Regions from separate parts of the Homo sapiens genome. Here regions 1, 2, 3 and 4 are each linked to region 5. The links are contacts of gene promoters, found by promoter capture Hi-C in blood cells and fetal thymus (Javierre and others, 2016). All regions are on one chromosome and are shown on one strand. Each heading gives the region's core, a stretch centred on a gene start or on the middle of the fragment in contact. The rest is flanking DNA. Distances are from core to core; before and after follow the strand shown.

Region 1 (4,711 bases), core at 1,751-4,250, 310 kb after region 5:
TCTGGAATCCACAGCGCTAGTGGGCTGCTCAGGGGAGGCTGGGAGAGGTGTTTCTCTCGCAGATGCCCTGGATGGCATGGGTTCTGCTAGGTGGCTTGGTGAAGGAAAGGGCAGGATCCGTCTCACACATTCCAGGCACTGTGGGGGTCAAATATGAAGAGCAAGCTTACTTTTTCCCTCTGATATTTCTCTTGCCTTCTATAAAACAGAATGTATATTCCCTTCCTGCCACTCATCAGAGCATCTTACAAATATTGACTCTGTGTGCTAAAGGCCTACCAGGGCTGCAAGGGCCCAGGGAAGCTCAGCCGAGCTCTAGGGCAGATGTTAAGGAAAGGGAGGAAGAGGACCTCTCTCAGGGCTCCTGTCACAGAGATGCTAGGGAAGCGGCCATCAAGAACTGCCAGAACAGCTTCCTTACAGCCAACGATGCTAGCCATGGCACCCAGACCCAGGTTATGGAGCCCACTGGCTCTGCGGATTCCAGATCCTGAAACCGCATCTTGTATTCGGTGTCCTGAGCCCAGGTGAAGCAGCAGGAGCACCACCGACTCCGGAACAGACTTGTAAACACACTTCATCTAATGGATGGGCCCAGCTCTGTGCTAGAATTCAAAGCTTAAATGAGACTCGGGCTTGCTATTGAGGAGGCACAAGTCAAGGGGAGGAAACAGGCCCCCAAGCAGAGATAAAGATATACACGGTGCTTCACCCAACCCACAGGCAGGAGCACCCTGTGCTTCTCTGCAAGGTCAGCAACTCAGGGGATGCGACCTCTGCCACAGCTCCACAGGGTCACTTCCCTTACTTTCGGAGGAGCACCCATTGGGCACTCAAATCAACACCCTGGGTTTAGCAGCCACTCTGTGATCCCAGCAGCACGGGGTGCTGCTGGAAACCTAAACATTTATTCTTTCACTCAAAACGCTGAGCGCCTACCAGGCGGCACACATTGCACTGAATGTCAGAGCCAGAGATCCTAAGGCTCTGAGGTGGGGAGGACAGAGCTGGAGGCAGATTACACACCTTAAAATGTGGGTGCAGAGGTGGGCAGGGAACACCACTGGGATGTGCCCATGAGGATGAGCCAAGACGGAAGAGCTGCGACTTGTTTACCAAAAGGCATTGACGACTCGATGCTCCGTCTTCCGTGGGAATTCACCCAGCTTTGTTCAGATGTTACTACCTCTGCCCTTCCCAGTTCCTACCCCATGAAAGGGCATCTGAAGGTGCTGACATCAGAAATGGCAAGTCAGGACACACGCAAGTTCCACAGGGCTTCCTGCTGCCCCGCCCAGCCTCTTTGCAGCCGCCTCCTGCAGCCCCAGGCACAGGCCTGACTTTGGTACAGTTGAAGTAATGCCCCAGTTTTGCCCTGGGCTGGGACTGCCACCTGGGGCAATAAGGGTGGTTGTTTTCCCCTGTGGTTGCCCTCCTGGTTACCTTAGTGACTCATGGAGGCAGTGGGCCAGCCTGGGACAGAGGAGCAGGGGTCTGGTCCAGGGCCAGCCTGGGGCTCTGATCCGCGGCTGCCCCAGATGTCCAGATCTGACCAGGAGCTATGAGGGAGGAGCCTGCTCCCATATAGCCATAACTTTTCTGTTCTGAGCTCATCAGTGTGGCCTGATAAAGTCTACAGAGAGGCCCTCAAGGAGGAAGAAAGAAAAGGCAGGGAAATATACTTTTTTTAGCTAGAGCTCCATCAGCGAGTACAGAAAGAGAACATTCTCCTAGGAGAAAGCAAGGCATACTCTGTCCTCAAGGTGCCATTTTCCCCAAGCAATAGAGGCAAGGCCAGATGAGCTGTGGAGGGGTGGAAGATGAGCTTGTGGCTCCCCACCCTGTCCCTTGCATGCACACCCACCCTCAGGGGCTGCAGCTGGGGTGGCTGAGAGGGGAATCCCTGGTTCAGGCTTTCCTTGTCTTACACAAACTGAGAAGGAAGCCTTGAGAATGCTGGTAGTGCATGCAGGGTGGAGCTGAGAGGGCGGAGAATGAGGTTTTTCACCCACCCTGTGGGCCCTCCTGTTTCCTCCACCCTCCCTGTAATCTCAAAACATCCTGACTTCACTGAGCAAAGGCCCCAAGCTTTTCATGGAAGAGCAGCAGCTTGCAATAGCCCCAGAGTCTGAAGATAACATCTCCCTTGCGGTGGCAAGAAAAGGCAAGGGTGCTCAGGAGAGTGCAAAAGTCCTCAGGCCCCAACCAGAAGTTCTGCCTCTGAGGTCCTCAAAGACACGGGCTCCATCTCCTGCTGTTCCCGCTTTGATTTTAGGGTGTTGCTTTGCTGTACTGGTGCCAGTAGCGGCCACACTGCAACTCTGCTTCAGGCACAAGGATTGGGGTGGGACCCTGTGTCCGCTCTGAGAGCACTTCTGCCTCCAGCCCTCTCTTGGTCCTTGTCCTTCATGTCCTTTTTTGGTGTGAACTGGGTTCAGGAGAGAAGCCCAGGCCCTGACATCTGTGGTCAATGCACACACTCCAGGAAGTTGTCTTAGGGATCAACCAGGGGCACCCACAAAATGGACTGGGGATCATGACTGGCCTTTCCAACCCACAGACCACCTTCATTCCACTCAAAATAGCGCAGCTCTGACTCTACTTAAGAAGGACGCTCTGATAACATGCTGGTGACTTTCACCTAGAAATGGAATCCATCCTTCAGGGCCCGGCCCCCTTCCTGCCTCCATGATGAAACCTTCCTGTCCCTTCCTGTCAACCCTGAGGCGCCACCACCTTCTCCTTCCCGTCATGTACTCACAATAGTTAACATCCACGGCTCTCTTCCCCTGCACTAGGGGCTGGGATGGGGATGGAACGGGGTGCCCTCTATCCCTGAGTTCCTTCCCATGCAGAGATGTAGAAACAGTCATCATGCATGGTTCCATGAGAGATTCCAAGAAAATGCACAGCAGCTGCAGGAGTCCCCAGGTAGCATCTGAAAAATGATTTCCTGAAACACATAGGGTTTGGATGGCGGGGTCAGGAGAGGAAGGACTTTCTGGCAGAGTGTAGATGGGAAACAGTGGATGGATGTGCAGGGAACCACCAGGAGCTGGCCCCGCCAGAGTGGGTCCCAACCAGGCCAGCCATCCAGTGGGCGCCATGGGCACCCGAGCTTTCCTCCCCCGGGCTTCACTCTCTTTGACCACTTTCTGCCCAGGGCCATCTGTGGGCAGTGACTTGGGGAGGCTGCAGGAAGAAGGGACAACAATTGAGTCACTTGTTGTTAAAACCAAAAGCCCGCCACCCCAGCCAAGATTTTCCACATGGGGGTAGCCCTGCCAACGTGTGCCCCCAGTCAACATCAAGATGTCCCCCACAGGCCTCAATGTCACGAAGGACTCCTGAAAATACTGCCTGTTTGAGAGGGGACAGAGACTAACTGTGAAATACTCCTCAGTTTCCCTGCTGCTTACCCAAGAGTTGGGTTGAAGCTCAGCCTGGGGCGCCACTGCTGGGGTGAGGTGGGCTGTGTCAGGCCAGCCACTCATGCCAAAGCTGAAGATAGGATGAGAAGGAGAGAGGGAGTGCCCACTGGGGGGCATAGGGCTGTGCCCAGGAGGGCACTGCTTGTCTTTGCAACCTAGCAGCCATCTCTGGCGGGATGCCTAAAATACCTCGGTCAGCCTCCCAGCTGAGGGAGAGCAGGAGGCGTGCGCTGGGGTCTGCATTAGGTTTTCACAATGGATAAAATCAGTTCTGTGATTGAAAGGCGAGGCCTTGGGAAATTAGTCACACAAGGGAGAATTGTGCCTGCCTCCATCAGAATCACCTGAGGATTCCCAGGAACCATCCAAGAGACTCTGATGCAGGGGTTCTAGGTTAAGGCCTGAGTCCCTTCTCTCCCTCCCTCCCTCTCTCCCACTCTTCCTTCCTTCCTTTCCCATGCAAAGCCCCTAGCAAAGCTTAGAATAAGAACATGTGGGGCTGGGTGTGGTGGCTCACGCCTATGATCCCAGCACTTTGGGAGGCAGAGGCAGGAGGATCACTTGAGGTCAGGAGTTCGAGACTAGCCTGGCCAACATGGTGAAACCCTGTCTCTACTAAAAACACAAAAATTAGCCGGATGTGGTGGCGGGCATCTGTAGTCCTAGCTACTCAGGAGGCTGAGGCACAAGAATCACTTGAACCCAGGAGGCGGAGGTTGCAGAGAGCCATGATCGCACCACTACACTCCAGCCTGGGCAACAAGAGCAAAACTCTGTCTCAAAAACAAACAAACAAAACCACGTTGGATCCACACATGGCTATAGATCCCTACTGTGTGCAAGGCAGCTGGCATCCTGGCCCTCTGAGACTGGCCTAGGGGAGGCCTCCTGGTGACTTCCTCCCAGAGCTAGAGAGGCGGTGTCCTTTGCCTCTGTCCTGCTGAAGGGAGTCCCTCATCCAAGGGGCAACGCTGCCACCTCCTGGTCAGTCTTAGAACTGTCCCCCACTCTGAATGCCTGGTGTAAATAGAGGCAGGGAGCCGGGAGAGGCCTCCCTGTCCTCCTTCTCTGGCTCTGCGTTTGAATATCTTATTCTAGGAAGTGGAATGTCCCCCAAACACGCGCCTCTTTTGGTGCCTCTTGTTTAAGTCTATCTTCCCTGGGAAGCCACTAGTCAACAAGTGGATCTCACTTACCCACCACTTTGCCTTGAATTCAGTGCAAGTCAGCATGTGTTTGTGGAGCACTTGATATGAGGGGGCTGGCAATACAGAGGACAA
Region 2 (4,368 bases), core at 662-3,161, 400 kb before region 5:
AAGATAATTTCTCAGTTCTTGTATATTATTGGCATTCAATATCTATTGAACAGGGCTAAGCAGCTCAAAGCCTGCTGGAAGACATAGACAAGTAACAAAAAGTTATTGTAATAATAAACAAATAATTCTGATGCAATACAAAAAGGGTGCTATGGGATCACAGGGGAAGAGTATGGACAGGGTGCTATAGAAGGGTCATCTAACTCCTTTTAAGAGAATTGGGGAAGAATTTCTAAGGATGGTTTTGATAGATGAGTAGAAGTGTTCAAGTGGAGCAAGAAAGAAGAAGATGGTGGTAGAAAAAGGCAGAGGAAAGAGAATGAGTGAAGGCATGAAAGGCAGAAGAGGTATGGTGACAAAGAAATGAAGCAGGAAAGGTAAACTGTGAGGACTTCCTATGCCATCCCAGGGAGTCTGGGCTTTAATCTTTAGACCGGCTCATCTCAGACTTTAATGCGCTAAAGAATCATCTGGGACACTGTTAAAATGCAGGACTGATCTGTAGTATGATACAGCCCGAGCTTGTGCATTTCTACCAAGTTCCCATGGTGGTGGAGCAACTGGTCCATGGGCCATATGATGGGTAGCAAGGCTTAGACAAAAGAGAGTCAAGATTCCTAAAGAGGAGAGTGACATGATCAGATTTATTTACTAGGAAGCTCACTGAGCTACAGTGTGGACGATGGACTGGAATTATAGGTACTTTATACATTCTTATTTAATGGTGATCCCCACAATATCCCCAATGACATGAGAGGACTGCAGACTCTTAAGAGTTGGAAAGGGTCATAGAGATAATGTGGTTGAACTTCCTTTGGAGAATATGAAAGAGCTTTTTTTTTTTTTTTTTGAGACATATTCTCACTCTGTTGCCCAGGGTAGAGTGCAGTGGAATGATCTTGGCTCACCGCAACCTCTGCATCCCAGGTTCAAGCGATTCTCCTGCCTCAGCCTCTTAAGTAGCTGGAACTACAGGTGTGCGCCACCACGCCAGGCTAATTTTTGTATTTTTAGTAGAGAGGCGGTTTCACCATGTTGACCAGGATGGTCTCGATCTCTTGACCTTGTGATCCGCCCACCTCGGCCTCCCAAAGTGCTAGGATCACAGGCATGAGCCACCGTGCCCGGCCGAGAGAGCTCTCAAAAGGTGACAAGATCTCCCCAGGGTCGGAGAGCTAACTAGTGGCAAAGCTTGGGATCCAGGACTCACATCATTTCACTAAGATCTACTTACCCATGTTCTTTCTGCCAGCTACCCTACTCCAGGACATCAACTTATATGCAGAAAGCTGAATTGTTACTGAGCTTTCATTGGAATTGAGAAGAAAAAAGGATATAGGGAAATAGTCCTTGTTCAGCCACTCAGAATTATGGAGGATATGTATATGTACATGCCAGGTTAGGAGAACTCCCACAATGGCAGGTCACCTGGCAGTATTTCCAGGTATTAGATTCCATGTGCCCCTTCCTTCCATCTCATGTCTTAGAAACATGCCAGAAGTGCAGATTCCCTTGTGGGTAAGTACATTAAAGCCTACGTGTTCTTGGTGGGTGTTCCAAAGCTACTTTATACCTACAGGAATGTTTGATGAAGCAGGTGGTGGGAGAAAAGGGAACTAACATGGCTCACATGCCTACTCTGTGCTATACACTGACCTACACTATTTATTTCTTAAAGAGCCTACACATAATGCATTCTTTTTTTTTTTTTTTTTTTTGATTTCACACCTTAGGAAAGTAAGGTTCCTAGAAGAAAAACGCAGAATTGATGAGAAAATAGTAAAATGGATGCAGCAGGACCACAGATTTTTGGGAAACGGAAAAAGATCCAGAAAAAGTCATTTTAGTTATCTCTATCATGGGATCTGGCCTTCCAGGAAAACGGCAAAACAGGGAGGAAGAACACACTGACATTGTCCGTGGGTCCCTGATGAACAAACAAGACTGTTTTAAGAAGCCACTTCCAGGATAAGAGGGGTCTTATTAAAAGGTTAAAGTAGTATGGACCAGATGCAGTGTTAGGAGATTACAGAAAGGATCTCACTCTGTAACAGGAAGTAAATCCTGCCGATTCATGCAATCACATGTCTTCTGTTTGATCTGCGAACAAGTGACTGATGCATTGAGAAACAGCTGATGCCAGTCTTTCTTAAAACTTGTGGAAAGGGGAAGTAACAGAAAAAAAATTATTATTAACCAGCTGAGTAATCTAAATGCCGTATCAGCAAGAATCTTATTTAGACCTAGTAAGGACGTGATTTTTCATGGATCTTAGAAGCCAGAAGTCTTGGACTCATTGGAGAGTCTCTAAGGTAGAACTGCAAAATGGCCAACTTTGAAGGAGAATACTAAAAGACATGAGAAATTTCATCTCCTTTAAAAGGGTAAGATGAACGTTTATAAATTCAGCAACAGAAGACCAAAAAGAAAGTCCCTTGTAAAAGGTGTACTAAATACATCTTCCTTTTGCCTCTGCCTTATGACATAAAGGCAGTTCAAACTTTTTGACCTAAGTGCGTATTGACCCTGTGCCAAGCACTGTTGTATGAATTATCTCATTTAATGCTTATAATTCATTATGTAGGTATGATTATTATTATAATATTACATAGAAAGAAAGGAGAAGCTTAAATAAGCCAGCATTCTAACTTTTTGGCAGCCTGACTCCTCTGACAGGTCAAAAACATATAGATCCAGGAGGTGGATGAACTCTCTTTTGTCAGGGGTGATGTTCAAGGAGGAGTTATACACAGTGCATGGCTCCCTATGTCACAGGGCCTTTTTGTTATCTGATTTTTTAGCAGAAGGACTGCCACTGTATTCATCTGGAGGTCAAAATACTTGCTTGGGGTAATGATTAGTCAACAACGGACTGTTGTTACTTCCCTTCCCCCGCTGCCCAACATCTAGTCAATGTTGAAATGAGGCTGTAAACAGGAAAAAAGAGTCCATCTTGCAGATAACCTCCCACTTTCCTCAGGGTAGGACATTTTTATCAAGTCTATGAACAGCCTGAAGTGGAATCATGCTGACGTCCAGAGACAGCATCCTGAGAGGGCCTAGGTCAGTGCTTGATATCCAATTATGCTAAAATGGGATTCTCATCCAATGCTACTGGCCCTGTTTAGAAAGGCCAAGGCTGTGGTGAAATCCAAGGAGAATTTGCTCTGTGGTGCTACAGACACTGGGAGAAAGGCAAGCTGCCATTTCTCACCTTCTCCCTTTCTGCAAGGTGATATAGTGCTTCTCTGACTTTGGGGTCAGAGATATAATGCCTCCTCAGACTTGGGGATCAGAGACAGTGCAGAGGGATGACAGACAGAAGCTGCCTTTTGGCAACAGTTCTACAGAGGTGCAGGGTCTTAAGTGACTGTTGTTACAAAGAACTTCTCTCCTTTTTGGTTGAATGAGAACTGATCCCCTCAAGGCCCCAAATGATAGTTACCCATTCTCAGTCATTGGCGTGATGGTTGCAGCCACAAGACCCTGAAGTTTCTTCTTTGGGAAGGCCATTGAGCTGCTGGTAGGTCTGGAAAACATACAATGTAATTTCTCTCTTTCTTCAAGGAATGTCAATGATAAAACTCCCAGGCAAAGTCCATTTCTAGTTTAGAACTGTAAAATGTGCTTACAAGTACACAAACACACAGAGCAAGTACAAGATGGTAAAATTTTAGTGCTTAATTCTATTGAGGAGGAAACTTTAAGACAGGAGAGGGTAGACTTGAGAAAATACTACGTGGACAGTCTCCCATTTTAGCTATACAGATGATGGAAGCAATCTAACACCTCAAAGGATAGAGGTTAACAGCAGCAGACCCAAGAAAGAGCTTGAACCTAACTCAGGTAAGTAAAACATACAGTGAATTATAGTCATGCCTCAGTATACACAGAAGATCAGTTCCAGGACCTTCGTGTATACCAAAATCCATGCCTACTCAAGTCACACAGTCAGCCCCAAGCCTGGCATATGAGAATTCTGCATCCTGCAAATACTGATTTTCTATCCGTATTTGGTTGAAAAAAATCTGTGTAAATGGACCTGCACACTTCAAATCAACGTAATTCAAGGGTCAACTGTACTATTACTTAAACTGAAATATGGTCATAAAAGGGGACATTTTCTCTTTCCATTGTCTTCATTCTTAGAATCTCACCTAAAACAAGCCTGTCTTAAGGTTTCATCATGATTTACATAACTACCTTCAGATTTACCTATCTTTTTATATCCTAATTTTGCCCAGTTTTGTCCAGTTTTCCTAGTTCTAGTTAACCATGTAGACTGCATATTCACCTCCCTCTTCCCCACTACAGCAGGCTCCCAGGACAGGGATGTTTCATTTGCCTTTGCTCTCTGCAGTGAGCCCT
Region 3 (4,320 bases), core at 1,580-4,079, 330 kb after region 5:
ACCAAACATGGTTGTTTGGCATCATCATCATTCCTGACTCTAACTGTGGATGCTACCAATAAGCAATCATTTTCCTATACTTATTTACACATAAGTACTTAAACAGTAAAAAAAGATACATTATTAATACAATGAAAAAATAATGTGTCTGGGTAAATAAGCAGCACAGGAGCATCACCAGAATACCTGTATCAGCTGTCAGACAACAGCAGCAACAAACAACAGGCTTTCAGCTACAATGCTGTGTTTTGATTAAAAGGTCATTGAACGCTGTATTTTTTTTTTTTTAGGTGAGGAGAAACATCCAAAGCAGTGGGGGACCAGGAGGTGGGTCCCTTAGGATGAGGAGGCATTCTGAATAAACTGTGTGTTGTGCACCTGCATTTTGGCTATGACCTGTCACATGAGGTCAGGTGTAGAATTTTTCACTTTTGGCATCATGTCAGTGTTCTGAAAGTTTTGGATTTTGGAGCATTTCAGACTTTGGATTTTGAGGTTAGTGGTGCTCAACCTATACTAAGCAGATGGCTACAGTAAGGCTGTTCTGAAGCTTGGGGATGTCTTCACCTCTTAAGAGGAAGAATCCTAATGGGTGAGGGTAAACCACCCAAGGAGCCGATGTGGGTGTGTAGCCCAGAAACACAGAGCTGAACAGGCTCAGGAAGCCCCCAGGTCCACTGAAGGTGCTGAAACAGTGTCACTGGGACTGGGATGAAACTATAGCTGGGTGCTAACTAACTAAGGGGCAACCTTTACAGTTGAAGATGTGTCAACAGGAGAATGGCCTGCCAGGGTCCAGGAAAAGGGACTTGGCAAAGCGAGAACTTAGGTCTATCCCCAGTACTGCCCATATAGGTTGTGTGAGAGCAAACCTGCAGCTGGAGCCACAGGTAACAGGGCCCTGTGCAGTTATAACCAGGAACCTCTGTTTTAAAAATCACCCATTTCCTTTTCTTCCTTCCCTTCCCTCTTACCCCTTCATTCCTTCCCTCTCTAGACAATCCCCTCACCAGTGCATGCTTATCTAATTATGCTCTTACCTAAGAAATCCCAGAGGCTAATATTGAAACAATCCAGGTGCCCCACTCCTCCCACTTAGGGGGAGTTGTGAACAATTGAGCCAAAATCAAGCTAATACCAACCAGACCTCCTGATGAGCAATTAACCAAGAGAGCCAACGGAACAAGACACACAAGTCCAGTACCCTGTACCACTCCCACATGTCCCCTATACCACATATCCCTTTAAAAACTCTATGGTAAGTTATAAAATGTAAGATGATACTTTAGAATGCTAGCTTGCCATCTTCTGGGTTTGCTGGCTCTGCTTTTCCTCCCAGAACCCCTTGCCTCTGGCTTTGCAGCAGCAAGCAGCTGAACCTGGGTCCGGTTACACAGCCGTGTCCTTGGGGTGCAGAAGAGGCACCAGGCTCCTGATACCAGCCCCAGCTCTGATTCAGTGCTCTTGGTGCTGTAGTTCAACTTGTCTACACTGTCCTATGCATAGAGCCAGGCTGGTGAGCCTTCAGGAATGTCCTGGGATCCTCGGCAGTCCCGTTTTTCCTGGTAAAGAAGGACTGCACATCACTGTGCAAAGGGCCTCTGCCATATCTCATCCTCCCTCCCCTCCTAAGTGAGAAAACCTGGCTGAAGAGCAGAAGCTTGCTCTCCAGAGTAGCCATGCCTGGAGCCCTCACACCTCTGCCCTTCCCTAACTAGCCTGGGCACCTGGGGTGGAGGTGGTGACAGGTGGGTGGGGGAAGCGTGTCAAAATAGAGTTTTTGTCTCTGCAAGGCCAAGGACTGGGTCTGGCCCAGGCACTTTCATCTGATGAGGCCCAGCTATTAGCAGATTGTTGATACTTTTTATTCCAAATGTAAGATTTCAATTCTACATATGTACAAGAATGTAATTTGCTTCATTGATGTTTTCAAACATGATGACATAAAATTGCTCAAAGTATGCCTTTATATTTTTATACCTTACTTATATTTTATTTCTTTTTAACTCACCCAGCCCCCACTCCCCATTAGATTTGCCAGAGGTTTTCATGGTCTTTTCAAAGAATAGACATGCTTACTGTTCAATATAGGCAAAACCAGGCCACAGCTCATCCTGCCAGGAGAATCCACACCTACAGAGGGATGCCGCACTCCAGCAGCCCTATAGGAAATTTCTTTCAAGAAACTTGCTTCACACCCGTGGCCAGAGTGCTATGAAGAGAGGTCCTCTCTGGTTACGTTCAGTGCAGCAGTTGAAAGAGGAAAAGGGAGTATGTTTTTATGGAAACCTCAAATGCCCTTCCACATCTCCTGTGAATTACCTCTGTGTTCAGGCAGCCGAGCTAGACAGCTGCGAGGAGAGGCGTGTGGTTTTGATGGGGGCCTTGGAAAGAAAAGGCCCCTTGTACCCTGGCCAGCGCATGTAGGTGGTGTGACCTGGGAGGACAGCGGAGCCAGGAGCTCCGCAGCTGTGTCAGAAGCCAGGCTCCCAGCGGCAATGTTCCAGGGAGCCAAAGGGGGAGCCAGAGAGCCGGGAGGCTCCAGCCTGGTCCAGAGAGAAAGAGACAGCACCTGCCCAAGGCGGTAAGCAAGGATCAGGGAATATGGGGGAGAATTCTGGACGGTGGCGAGCCCCCTGCCTTTCCCTTCCTCTCTCCTTCCTTCCTTCCTTTGTTCCTCCCTTCTTTCTTTCTTTCTTCTAAGAACAGAGAGGAAAATTTTCTTTTCTTTTTCCTTTGAGACTCGGTCTCACTCTGTTGCCCAGCCTGGAGTGCAGTGGTTTGATCATGGCTCACTGTAGCCTGAGCTTAACTGATCCTCCTGCCTCAGCCTCCTGAGTAGCTGGGACCACAGGTGTGTGCCACCACATCCAGCTAATTTTTAAAAATTCTTTGTGAAGGTGAGGTCTCCCTATGTTGCCGAGGCTGGTCTCGAACTCCTGGGCTCAAGGGATCCTCCCGCCCCAGCCTCCCAAAGTGCTGGGACTACAGGTTACAGGCATGAGCCACTGCACCTGGCCCCAGATTATTCTTATGTACAGCAGGGTTGATGCAATGTACAATGTTTTTCAACTGTGTTTGACCAAGAATCAGAGCAAACCAGACTATGAGATACAGTCTTCATTATATACCCCCAGACTATGTTTATAAACCTAAAACAAAAATTACATGAAACTATACTTTTATGTGTGAGACACTTTGATATATTCTACTGTCTTCTGTTCTATTCTAAAAAAGAATGTTGGTTGTGGCTCACTAAAGTGATTCCCTGTCATATTCACAGATTGTGTCCTGCAGTCTGAAAAACACTGACATAGTAAAGCTCAACAAATGTTTGGTGAGTAAATGAATGATCGAACAAATAAATGAATACTTCAATCTCAACACCAGTAAAACAGAGGGGCTGCACTAGATAATTTCTTAGATCTCTTCATTAAAAATACTGAGGTCGATGCCTTTGTTTTTAAATTTCCAACAGCTTCATCATGCCCCTGGGCTCTGGTAAGCCTCAGTTCAAGGGATTCCCACTGATACAAGAGATCAGAGGGTTCTTTTTCAATGTGTTTATTACGTAAAGATAAGCAGTATCTTCCCTTCTAACCTCCCCAGACCTTCTATCCCTGAGCCCAGAAGGACCAGTAAAGTCAGAACGTAAACCTAAGGTATAGAAGATTCCCAGAAGTCTCATTTGTGGTGTTCTTCCTCAGTTTTCTACAAGGTCCCAAGGCTGAGGTGGAATGTGGAGGAGTGGAGGCCTGAAGTCTCTGTGGCCTTGAAAGATGTGGTAGTCAGTGTGGGCCAAGATAATATGCTGCTATGTCAGTAGACAATTTGAATCTTCAGCCTCTTGTACCCTGAGGGTTCCATGAACCCATCCAACTGCTTGCAGTGAAGCCCAACCCACTGCTTGCAGCTTATGCTCCCTCGGCCTGGGCCAGAGGCTTCCAGGGTCATCTGGCAGGGTCACTATAGTGCAATGTAGGTCTTGAGAAGCTTGGAAAGGGCTGGTCTTCTGGTGAGCTCCAGAAGTGGCTCCAGAGACCACTGCCTCAGTAGGACCTGGTTATACTGAGTAAGGGCTTCAGAAAGTTTGAGGAAAAGGTTCCAGTGGAGACCAGAGGTGGGTTCTCTGGGTTCTCTGCTGTTTAGACAGGAGGTAGAGGTGCCTTCCTACCCCATATTATATTGTTAGCTAATACTGATTGGGCACTTGTCCATCCCTTGTACTCTGCAAAGCACATCATCTCATTTAAACCCCACAACAACTCTGTAAGCTAGATATTAAATATTATTATTAGCCATAATTTACAGACAAAGAAA
Region 4 (4,356 bases), core at 1,252-3,751, 300 kb after region 5:
GGAATTTATAGACGTGTTCCACTTATACCATTTAAAAATTTTATCTTGAAAAGGAAAATTGAACAAGGAAGACACCTGATATACTAGATGAGGATTAATTTAGGTTGAGAAATATAATCCATATAGAAACTATCTTCATTTGAATTTTATGTATTTCATCCTTTTACTTATTCTTTCTTTTACTTACAAATACTGTCTGAATACATACTATGCTAAGTGCTAAGGATATAAAAGCAAATGAGATATGGAGAACATCCTTAAGAGACTCACATTTGCATATTAAATTATTTTGACTTTTGTAGCTAGCAGTGCAAAATTCGGGTTCAATTTTAAACAATCAGTTTTTTCAGTTGAGGCTAAAGATGGTTTAGTGTTAAACAAAAGAGTACAGGATTTATGGCTAGGCTTATCTGAGCTATTCTAGATGCATCACCCTAGATAAATTAGTTAGACTAGCCAAGTTTGAAGAAGGAAAATTAATTCAGAGCAATTTTCCTGTTGAAGATAACCAGAAACTTTTTTTTTTTTAAAAAAAATGAGAACCAACAAGAGAGAGAATATAATTACTGAACCAATTTGGAGGCTTAAAAAGGTAAATTGGAAGATAAGGCTGCTCTATCCTGGGAGCATTTGGCAATTCATGAGGGGTTGGAGAAAGGGTAAGAGGCTAAATTAAGGGAATGGATTATATTCTAGGGCCTGCCAAGATGAGGAGAGTTGCTGGTAAATCTCCCCATTTCAAGTTGAGATACTGAAGAAGAATGAACTTGAACTACATAAGGCTTCCTAGACACTTCAGTTTACAATAATCTCAACTGCCTGGCAAAAGCAAATGTAAGTCCTTTCTCAATGAAGAATACATTTCTATAAGCAATTCTGCACGTACAATTATTAGCACATAATTTAAATATAGCCACATGAGGGCAGGTACGGTGGCTCATGCCTGTAATCCCAGCACTTTGGGAGGCCAAGGTGGGTGAATCACTTGAGGTTAGGAGTTTGAGACCAGCCTGGGCAACATAGCAACACCCCATCTCCACCAAAAATACAAAAATTAGCCATTCTCAACCCCATCTCAAAAAAAGTAAATACATAAAAATTAAAAAAATAAAAAAATAGCCACATGAAACAGGAAAATATGACTAATAAAATAGCAGAAACAAGGACAGTAGAAATAGATCCACATGAAGTCTTACAGATCCACATAGAGTCTGATTATTTAAATAACCAAAAACATTTTATAATATAAACATGTTGTGTCAGTCAGATTTCCAACCAGACACAGATGGAACCATCAAACTATGATAATATGAGGGATAATATTATTCCTTAATAAAGGAATAATTTTCAAAAGTATGGGTTGTGATGGGGAGAGATGGGGTCCAATACTCTGGGGCTATGAACAATGAGGAGGCTTTACCACCTGTAGGCTTGAAGAGTTACAGGGAGGGAGGAACTATCAGAATCTAGAGACAGAGAGTCTATGGTCAGGGAATGTGGCCAGCCCACAGTGACCCCACAGGAAGAGATCAGGTAAATCAGTACCGAATCTCACTCTCCTCCTTCCCTGTGGTCCTACTGGTACTTTACTTTAGCCAAACACAGCTAGAAGCCAGAGGACAAGAAAGTTAATTGATACAGTCCATGCAGATCAGGTTCCTGGAGAGGCAGCAGAGTGGAGAGAGTGAAGATATATCCATAGAGGTGAACAGAAGTATATAACATGTGCTGTTATTTTTTCAAGAAAATAAATGATTAAGGACTTAGCAAACTAGAAACTATATAAAAGAAACAAAAAGAAGTTCTAGAATTAAAAAATATAGTAGTCAAAATTAAGAACTCAATGAATAACTTTAGCAATTGTTGAGACCCAACTGAAGAGAAAATTTGTGAAGTGGAAGATAGGTCAGAAGACAATCATAGAATAAAGCATGAAGAGGAAAAGGATGGAAAGTCTACAAGAGATGGTAAGAGGTGTAGAAGATATAGTGGGAAGATCTAGTATATGTGTAGTTAGAGTATCAGCAGGCAAATAAAAGGAGGAAATAATGGAAGCAATATCTGAAGAAGTAGTGGCTGAGAAATTTTCAAACTCAAATACAACTAGAGAAAAAGGGACAGATTACTCTCAAAAGAGCAACAGTAAGACTTAGAGCTGACTTCTCAACAGTGGAAGCCAAGAGGCAGTGAAATTACATCTTTAAAAGGCTGAAATAAAATAGCTGCCCATCTAAAATGTTATGATAAGAATTTAAAAATCTATCAAGAATGAAGATTTTTTTAAGTTATTTGATTTCATTTTGTTTTCAGACAGGGTGTCTCTCTGTTGCCCAGGCTGGAAGGCAGTGGCACAATCTCGGCTCACTGCAACCTCTGACTCCTGGGTCACCTCAGCCTCCCAAGTGTCTGAGACTATAGGTGCACACCAACACACCTGGCTAATTTTTGTATTTTTGTATTGGATGGGGTCACACTATATTGCTCAGGCTGGTCTCAAACTCCTGGGCTCAAGCAATCCTCCTGCCTCAGCCTCCCAAAGTGTAGGATTACAGGCGTAAGCCACAGGACCCAGCCAAGAATTTGTAAGAAAAACTGCATTAAAACAAAAACCAAGGAAATTGTCACCAGCAGACTCATAACTGAAGAAAACATTAAAAAGTTCTTCAGACAAAACAAAAAAGTATTTCAGTTAGCAAGTTGGAGATCAAGGGAAGAATGAAAAGCAAGTCAAGAATAAATATGTGGTTGAGTCTAAATAAATATCAACCATACAAAACGGTAGTACAAAGTATGGGGAGTTTAAAATGTACAGAGAATCAAAATTCACAATAACAATGATTGGGAGAGGAAATCAATGAATTAACATCTAAAAGAATTAGTAAAAACTAGTAATTAGTAAAATTAGTAAAAACAGGTAACTTCCAAGTTAATAAATGGGAAAAGTGAAATAATCAAAATTCATCTGTATATAAACATACATATATGTGTGTATATGTATGTGTACATATACACACATGTATATGCATATACATGTGTAATCAGTATTCATCTGTATATATCAAACTTCATCTGTATATAAACATACATATATGTGTGTGTAATATATGTGTGTGCATGTATATGTATATATGTATACATATATGTATATATACACATATATGTATATACATATACAGTGATAGATTAATTTGCTTAACTATAAGTAATCATTTCACTATGTATATGTATATCAAAACAGCATGGTATAAACCTTAAACATGTACCATAAAAAGGCACTGTTGGGGATAAGAAAGACCTACTTCATTATGATAAAGTTGAATTCACCAGGAAAATATAATTCTAATTTTCTACATACTGCTAACATAGCCTCAAAATATACAAAAGAAAACAGAAAAACAAATTCACTATCACAAATGGTAGACTTTTAACATACTTCTCACAGCAAATGGTATAACTAGCAGACAAACATTATTAATCATATAGATTTGAACAACACAATCAAATACACTTGACCTAAAGAATACTTACAAGACATGCACACTATAATTGCAGGGTACAATTTTTTTCCAAGCACACAAGGAAAATTCACAGAAATTTACTATATGGTAGGTCATAATGTAAGTCTCAATAAATTGCAAAATATTGAAGTAATTCCAAGTATTTCTCCGGGGAAAAAGTGACAAAGAGATAACTAAAAAATCCTCATATGCTTGAAACTTCAAAGAAATCATGATGGAAATTAGAATAAAAAAATGTGAAAACATCATTTTCCCCAAAACTGATCTACAGATTCAATGCAATCTCCCTGCCACAACCAAAAAAAAGAAAGAAAGAAAATAACAGTTTTTCTTTTGTGGAAATTGACAAGCTGATTCTAAAGTTTTTATGGAAATGCAAAGGGATAAACACAACCAAGACATTCTGGAATAAAAACAAACTGGCAGTGGTGGCTCACGCCTGTAATCTCAGCACTTTGGGAGGCCAAGGCGGGCAGATCACGAGGTCAGGAGATCGAGACCATCCTGGCTAACACGGTGAAACCCCGTCTCTACTAAAAATACAAAAAATTAGCTGGGCATGGTGGTGGGCGCCTGTAGTCCCAGCTACTTGGGAGGATGAGGCAGGAGAATGGCGTGAACCTGGGAGGCAGAGCTTGCAGTGAGTCGAGATAGAGCCACTGCACTCCAGCCTGGGCAATAGAGTGAGACTCCATCTCAAAAAAAAAAAAAAAAAAAAAAAAAACAAAACCTGGGAGGACTTGCTCTACTGGATATTAAACCAATTAGTCTGGGAGTGGTGGCTCACTGCAACCTCTGTAATCCCAGAACTTTGAGAGGCTAAGGCAGGAGGATCACC
Region 5 (4,454 bases), core at 154-2,653:
AGTACTTTGGGAGGCTGAGGTGGGTGGATCACTTGAGCCCAGGAGTTTGAGACCCAGCATGGACAATGTAGTGAGACCTCATCTCTACAAAAAATAGCTGGATGTGGTGGCTCATGTCTGTTGTCCCAGCTACTCAGCAGCTGAGGCAGGAGGATTGATTGAGCTCAGGAGGTTGAGGCTGCAGTGAGCCGTCATCAAGCCACTGCACTGCAACCTGGGCAACAAAGCGAGACACTGTCTAAAAATAAAAATAAAAATAGAAATAAAAATAAATAAATGAAGACTCTTGCCTTGGATGCAACCCCTCATATGCAGCTGGCTGCTACCTAGTGCTTAGAACTCTTTCTGCCTATATGTGTTAGACACATAGTAAATGATAATTAAAGAGAGAATAAAGTTGAGGACCTAATTCACATTAAAATATAAGCAGTTTGTTGGATCTACTTATCTCAACATATCTGCATTTTAATAAAAAATTATACCTTAACATTCCAAAATTGATCTCAAAAGGTGACATTTTACATTCATCTACTGTTCTTTGGAAAGATAATTTGGGGCAATTGAGCTGCTTTCTTTGTGATCCCCAAAAACTGTTACAGAAGAATGAAGAGGACAAGAGCTCAGTATCTATATATATGAGCACACATCCAAACGTTTATAAACTTTTATGTCTAGGAAGAATGTATTTGCTCTCAGTATATGACCCAACATATGAGTAAGGAGTCTTTTTTTTTTTTGAGACAGTCTCGCTCTGTCACCCAGGCTGGAGTGTAGTGAGATGATCCTGGCCCACTGCAACATCCGCCTCCCGGGTTCAAGTAATTCTCCTGCCTCAGCCTTCCAAGTGGCTGGGATTACAGGCACTCTTTACCATGCCCAGCTAGTTTTTGTATTTTTAGTGGAGATGGGATTTCACCATGTTGGCCAGGCTGATCTCGAACTCCTGACCTCGAGATCTGCCTTGGCCTCCCAAAGTGCTGGGATTACAGGCTTGAGCCACCATGCCTGTCCGAGTAAGGAGTCTTAAAGGATGCATTAAGGTTTGTGAGTAACCCGGGTCTTCTCTGGATAATCTCCGTGCTCAGGCACCTCTCTTTTTCTACTCCGAGCATTGAACAGGGGCAGAAGGAAGCAAGCCATGAGAGAGAGGGACAAGTGTAACCAGAAGGTCCTCAAGGGTCCAAAAGCAGAGCTCCTGAGAGCACAAATTCCCACAGGTGCATACTAAAAAATATTTATGTTTCTACTTTGGCAGAACTCAATTAGTTCCCAGTGTACTGGAATGAAATGGAACAATGAGACCCACCTCACTAAAAACCTAGGCTCCTGTCCAGAACTTTCCAGTCTGTGAGAGAGCAGTGGGCAGAAGGAGATGATAAAAGTAGGTAGAACTTAGCTCTGTATATATAGGCCCAGAACTCGAGAGGCCTGTGAGGGAGAGGAGAGCAGAGAGGTCCTGAGTATTGCTCTTCACGCTTCAGTCGGACAGGCCTGTATTCCATGGGAAAGTCCATTGGCCATTTTTAACTGGGGCTATTTCTTTTCTCTTATGGACTATATCAGGCCACAGTGGTCTCCAAGGGCATGATACTCAAAGGTTGTCTCCTGTATCCTTTGTGCTCTCCCAGGAATAAGCAAAGATGTGCCAGGCTGTGGAAAATAGCCTATGGAGGATTACTAAAGATAGTGACTGGCTCCCTCTTAACATTTTATGTGGTTCTCTGTCTTGATGGCGGGATGGTGCTCATGAGGAAGCAAGTGCCATCAAGGTTCATGTACCCCAAAGAGTGGCAGCACCTCACCATGTTCATCCTCCTCACTCTTAATGGCTGTGTGGACTTCATGAGCAAGAATGTGCTGCCTCAGAGGTGTGTGGGCCTAGAAAAAGGTACCCTGGTCCTGATCATCTACGAGCTCCTGCTGCTGATGGTGTCACATGTTAAAGATTCAGAAGGGGTGGAGCTGCACGTTTATTCTCTGCTCATCTTGGTGGTGTTCCTGCTGTTGCTGGTGTTGACTGCAGAGCTGTGGGCTCCCAACATGTGTCATCTCCAGCTGATGGAGACCTTTCTGATTCTGATGATGGGCTCCTGGCTGATGCAGGCAGGCTTTATTCTATACAGACCCGTCTCTGGCTACCCATGGCAGGACGATGACATCAGTGACATCATGTTTGTCACCACCTTCTTCTGCTGGCATGTGATGATCAATGCCTCATTCCTGTTGGGAATCTATGGCTTCTCTTCCTTTTGGTATCATTGTTTCAGACCCAGCTTGAAGCTGACTGGGCCCAAAGAAGCTCCATATTATGCAAGCACTCCAGGACCCCTCTACAAGTTGCTACAGGAAGTGGAGCAGTCAGAGAAAGAGGACCAGGCTCTCCTCCTTCCAAAGAGCTCCCCCTGAGACAGGGCCTACAGTGGCTGGCACATCGTCCACCTCATCTTCCTCCTGTTGGCTCCTCAGCCACGAGCATGGTACCCTCCTTGGTAAAGGTAATGGCCTTGAAGGCTAGCAGTTGGTCCCGTCTGCTGGTTCATTTTCTTTTCTTCTCTTTTCTTTTTTTTTTTTTTTGAGACAGAGTCTCGCTCTGTTGCCCAGCCTGGAGTGCAATGGCACAATCTCAGCTCAGTGCAACCTCCGCCTCCCGAGTTCAAGCGATTCTCCTGCCTCAGCCTCCCGAGTAGCTGCAATTACAGGAGCCTGCCACCATGCCCGTGCTGGTGCATTTTCTGTCCCTGAGCCTCTAATTACTGAGAAGATAAGGGGAGAGGGATTGAGAAAGAGACGCTGATGGGATTTGCGGGAGGGAGGGAAAAGGACGAGGAGAACACTTCTTCTTAGTGTGCAAGAAAAGCCACTGGGGGAAGAGAATGCAACAAAAGGAAGAGCTGTGAAGGGAGGAGAACAGAGTCTAGCAGTTATGCTGTCATTAGCGTCATCAGGCACAAGGGATTGCCTTTTACCTGAGGGAATAAAGACTTCTCACAACTCAAAACTGGACCCATTCAAATCTCATCTTGATAAAGAAAAGTGGGTACTTTACGTGCTCACCAAAGTGGTGCCACCATGTGGAAATAGCATGATAGAATTTATAATTAATTCATACAGGCTGAAATTATGCTCGCTTTGCCTCCTTCTCTCTCCGCAGCTTTCAAGAATTGGCTTCATTTCAAACTTTACATATAAAGTGAGACTTTTTAAATACTTAATAACATTTCAAATTTCCATAATTTAAATTTGTATAGAATTCAACTGCTATAGCATTTTTATAGCATTCAAATGCTTGGTACTTCCCTGACTTCTCATTTTATTACTCTTATTCTAGCCCAAACTTTCCTTTTCACCATGACCACCCTTGCACATGCAATTTAGCAGATACCATTCTTGGGTCTTTGCAAATTTCTTTTCCTTGCAAATCACAGCCAGTCATCCTACAGTCACATATTTACCATGTTATTCGATTCCCAGAATAAACCTACATCCACCCCCACACCGCACCAAGTATCCCCAAGGTGGCCTTCTCCAGAACTCTTACTGATTCCCTTGTTTTGGAACTCTTGGGCACTTACATTAAATCTGCTTTGTTAGTTTGCTCATACAGGTGACCCACTTTCTTTTATACTGCTGCTGAAATCATTTTCTTTCAGAAGGTTCTTCCTCACCCACTAAAGTACAGGCTCCTAAAGGGAAAAGACTTTGCCTTATCCAAGTTACCAAATTTCCTATGTATACTCCAGCTATGGATCATGGTTATGTTTAATAAAGCCTTCTTTGCTTCCAGAGTCTTCCCTAATCCTGTTTCTTCTAAATGTATTGCTGGACAGGTTGGAGGTTTTGTGAATCTCTCTGGGTGACAACAACAGTCCTGAACACTGAGTCACTGCCTTAGTAATGCACCCACTCTCTTCCTTGTTTTGGGGTATAATAAAATCCAGTAACTTGTTTCTGAAGTTGACTCTGTTATTGTTTTTAATCCTCACAAATGTTTCTATAAGGAGTCTCTAGAAAACTGAGACTCCAGCAGGTTGACTTGCCCAAGTCTCACAGTTGGTATGAGGCAACACAGGAATTTAAGTGCAGGTGTGTCTGACGCAAGTGTGACTGTGTCCTCTGGGCCACAGTGACTTTGCTAATGGCAATGGAGAAACAAGTTATCTCAAAATGAAAAAAATGAAATTGTGAAAGAAAGAAGAAAGACGGCTGGGCACTGTGGCTCACGCCTATAATCCCAGCACTTTGCGAGGCCAAGGCGGGCGGATCCCTTGAGGTCAGGAGTTCGAGACCAGCTTGGTCAACATGGTGAAACCCTGTCTCTACTAAATATACAAAAATTAGCTAGGTGTGGTGGCCCACACCTATAATCCCAGATACTTGGGAGGCTAAGGCAGGAGAATCACTTGAACCTGGGAGGCGGAGGTTGCAGTGAGCTGAGATTGCACTACTGCACCCTA

What was found. The method cuts DNA at HindIII sites, captures the fragments that hold promoters and counts their contacts. A CHiCAGO score of 5 or more calls a contact.
Region 1: a fragment that was not itself captured here is called in contact with the fragment with the promoter of TEDDM1 in region 5 in 17 of 17 cell types (M2 macrophages, M1 macrophages, M0 macrophages and 14 more); the score reaches 70.1 in M2 macrophages.
Region 2: a fragment that was not itself captured here is called in contact with the fragment with the promoter of TEDDM1 in region 5 in 5 of 17 cell types (M0 macrophages, M1 macrophages, M2 macrophages and 2 more); the score reaches 8.0 in M0 macrophages.
Region 3: a contact is called between a fragment that was not itself captured here and the fragment with the promoter of TEDDM1 in region 5, in 13 of 17 cell types (erythroblasts, activated CD4 T cells, total CD4 T cells and 10 more). The highest score is 9.7, in erythroblasts.
Region 4: a contact is called between a fragment that was not itself captured here and the fragment with the promoter of TEDDM1 in region 5, in 15 of 17 cell types (neutrophils, megakaryocytes, M0 macrophages and 12 more). The highest score is 9.9, in neutrophils.

Annotation. Positions count from the first base shown.
Region 1 is chr1:182,084,792-182,089,502 of GRCh38, reverse strand. No RefSeq gene overlaps it. Among named protein-coding and RNA genes, the nearest start is that of ZNF648, 25 kb to the right of the region's middle. RefSeq lists an enhancer at 4,131-4,180. The HindIII fragment of the contact is 1,820 bases long and covers 2,091-3,910 here.
Region 2 is chr1:182,793,517-182,797,884 of GRCh38, reverse strand. NPL (N-acetylneuraminate pyruvate lyase) reads right to left here. Exons shown (of 13, transcript NM_030769.3): 3 at 3,446-3,529. The coding sequence starts at 3,513. Among named protein-coding and RNA genes, the nearest start is that of NPL, 5.9 kb to the right of the region's middle. The HindIII fragment of the contact is 1,435 bases long and covers 1,194-2,628 here.
Region 3 is chr1:182,067,334-182,071,653 of GRCh38, reverse strand. It overlaps a transcript of ZNF648 not described here. Among named protein-coding and RNA genes, the nearest start is that of ZNF648, 7.8 kb to the right of the region's middle. The HindIII fragment of the contact is 2,333 bases long and covers 1,663-3,995 here.
Region 4 is chr1:182,102,671-182,107,026 of GRCh38, reverse strand. No RefSeq gene overlaps it. Among named protein-coding and RNA genes, the nearest start is that of ZNF648, 43 kb to the right of the region's middle. The HindIII fragment of the contact is 5,644 bases long and covers 1-4,356 here.
Region 5 is chr1:182,397,616-182,402,069 of GRCh38, reverse strand. It overlaps TEDDM1 (transmembrane epididymal protein 1), which reads left to right and starts at 1,403. Exons shown (of 1, transcript NM_172000.4): 1 at 1,403-3,953. The coding sequence starts at 1,585. The coding sequence ends at 2,406. The HindIII fragment of the contact is 8,350 bases long and covers 1-4,454 here.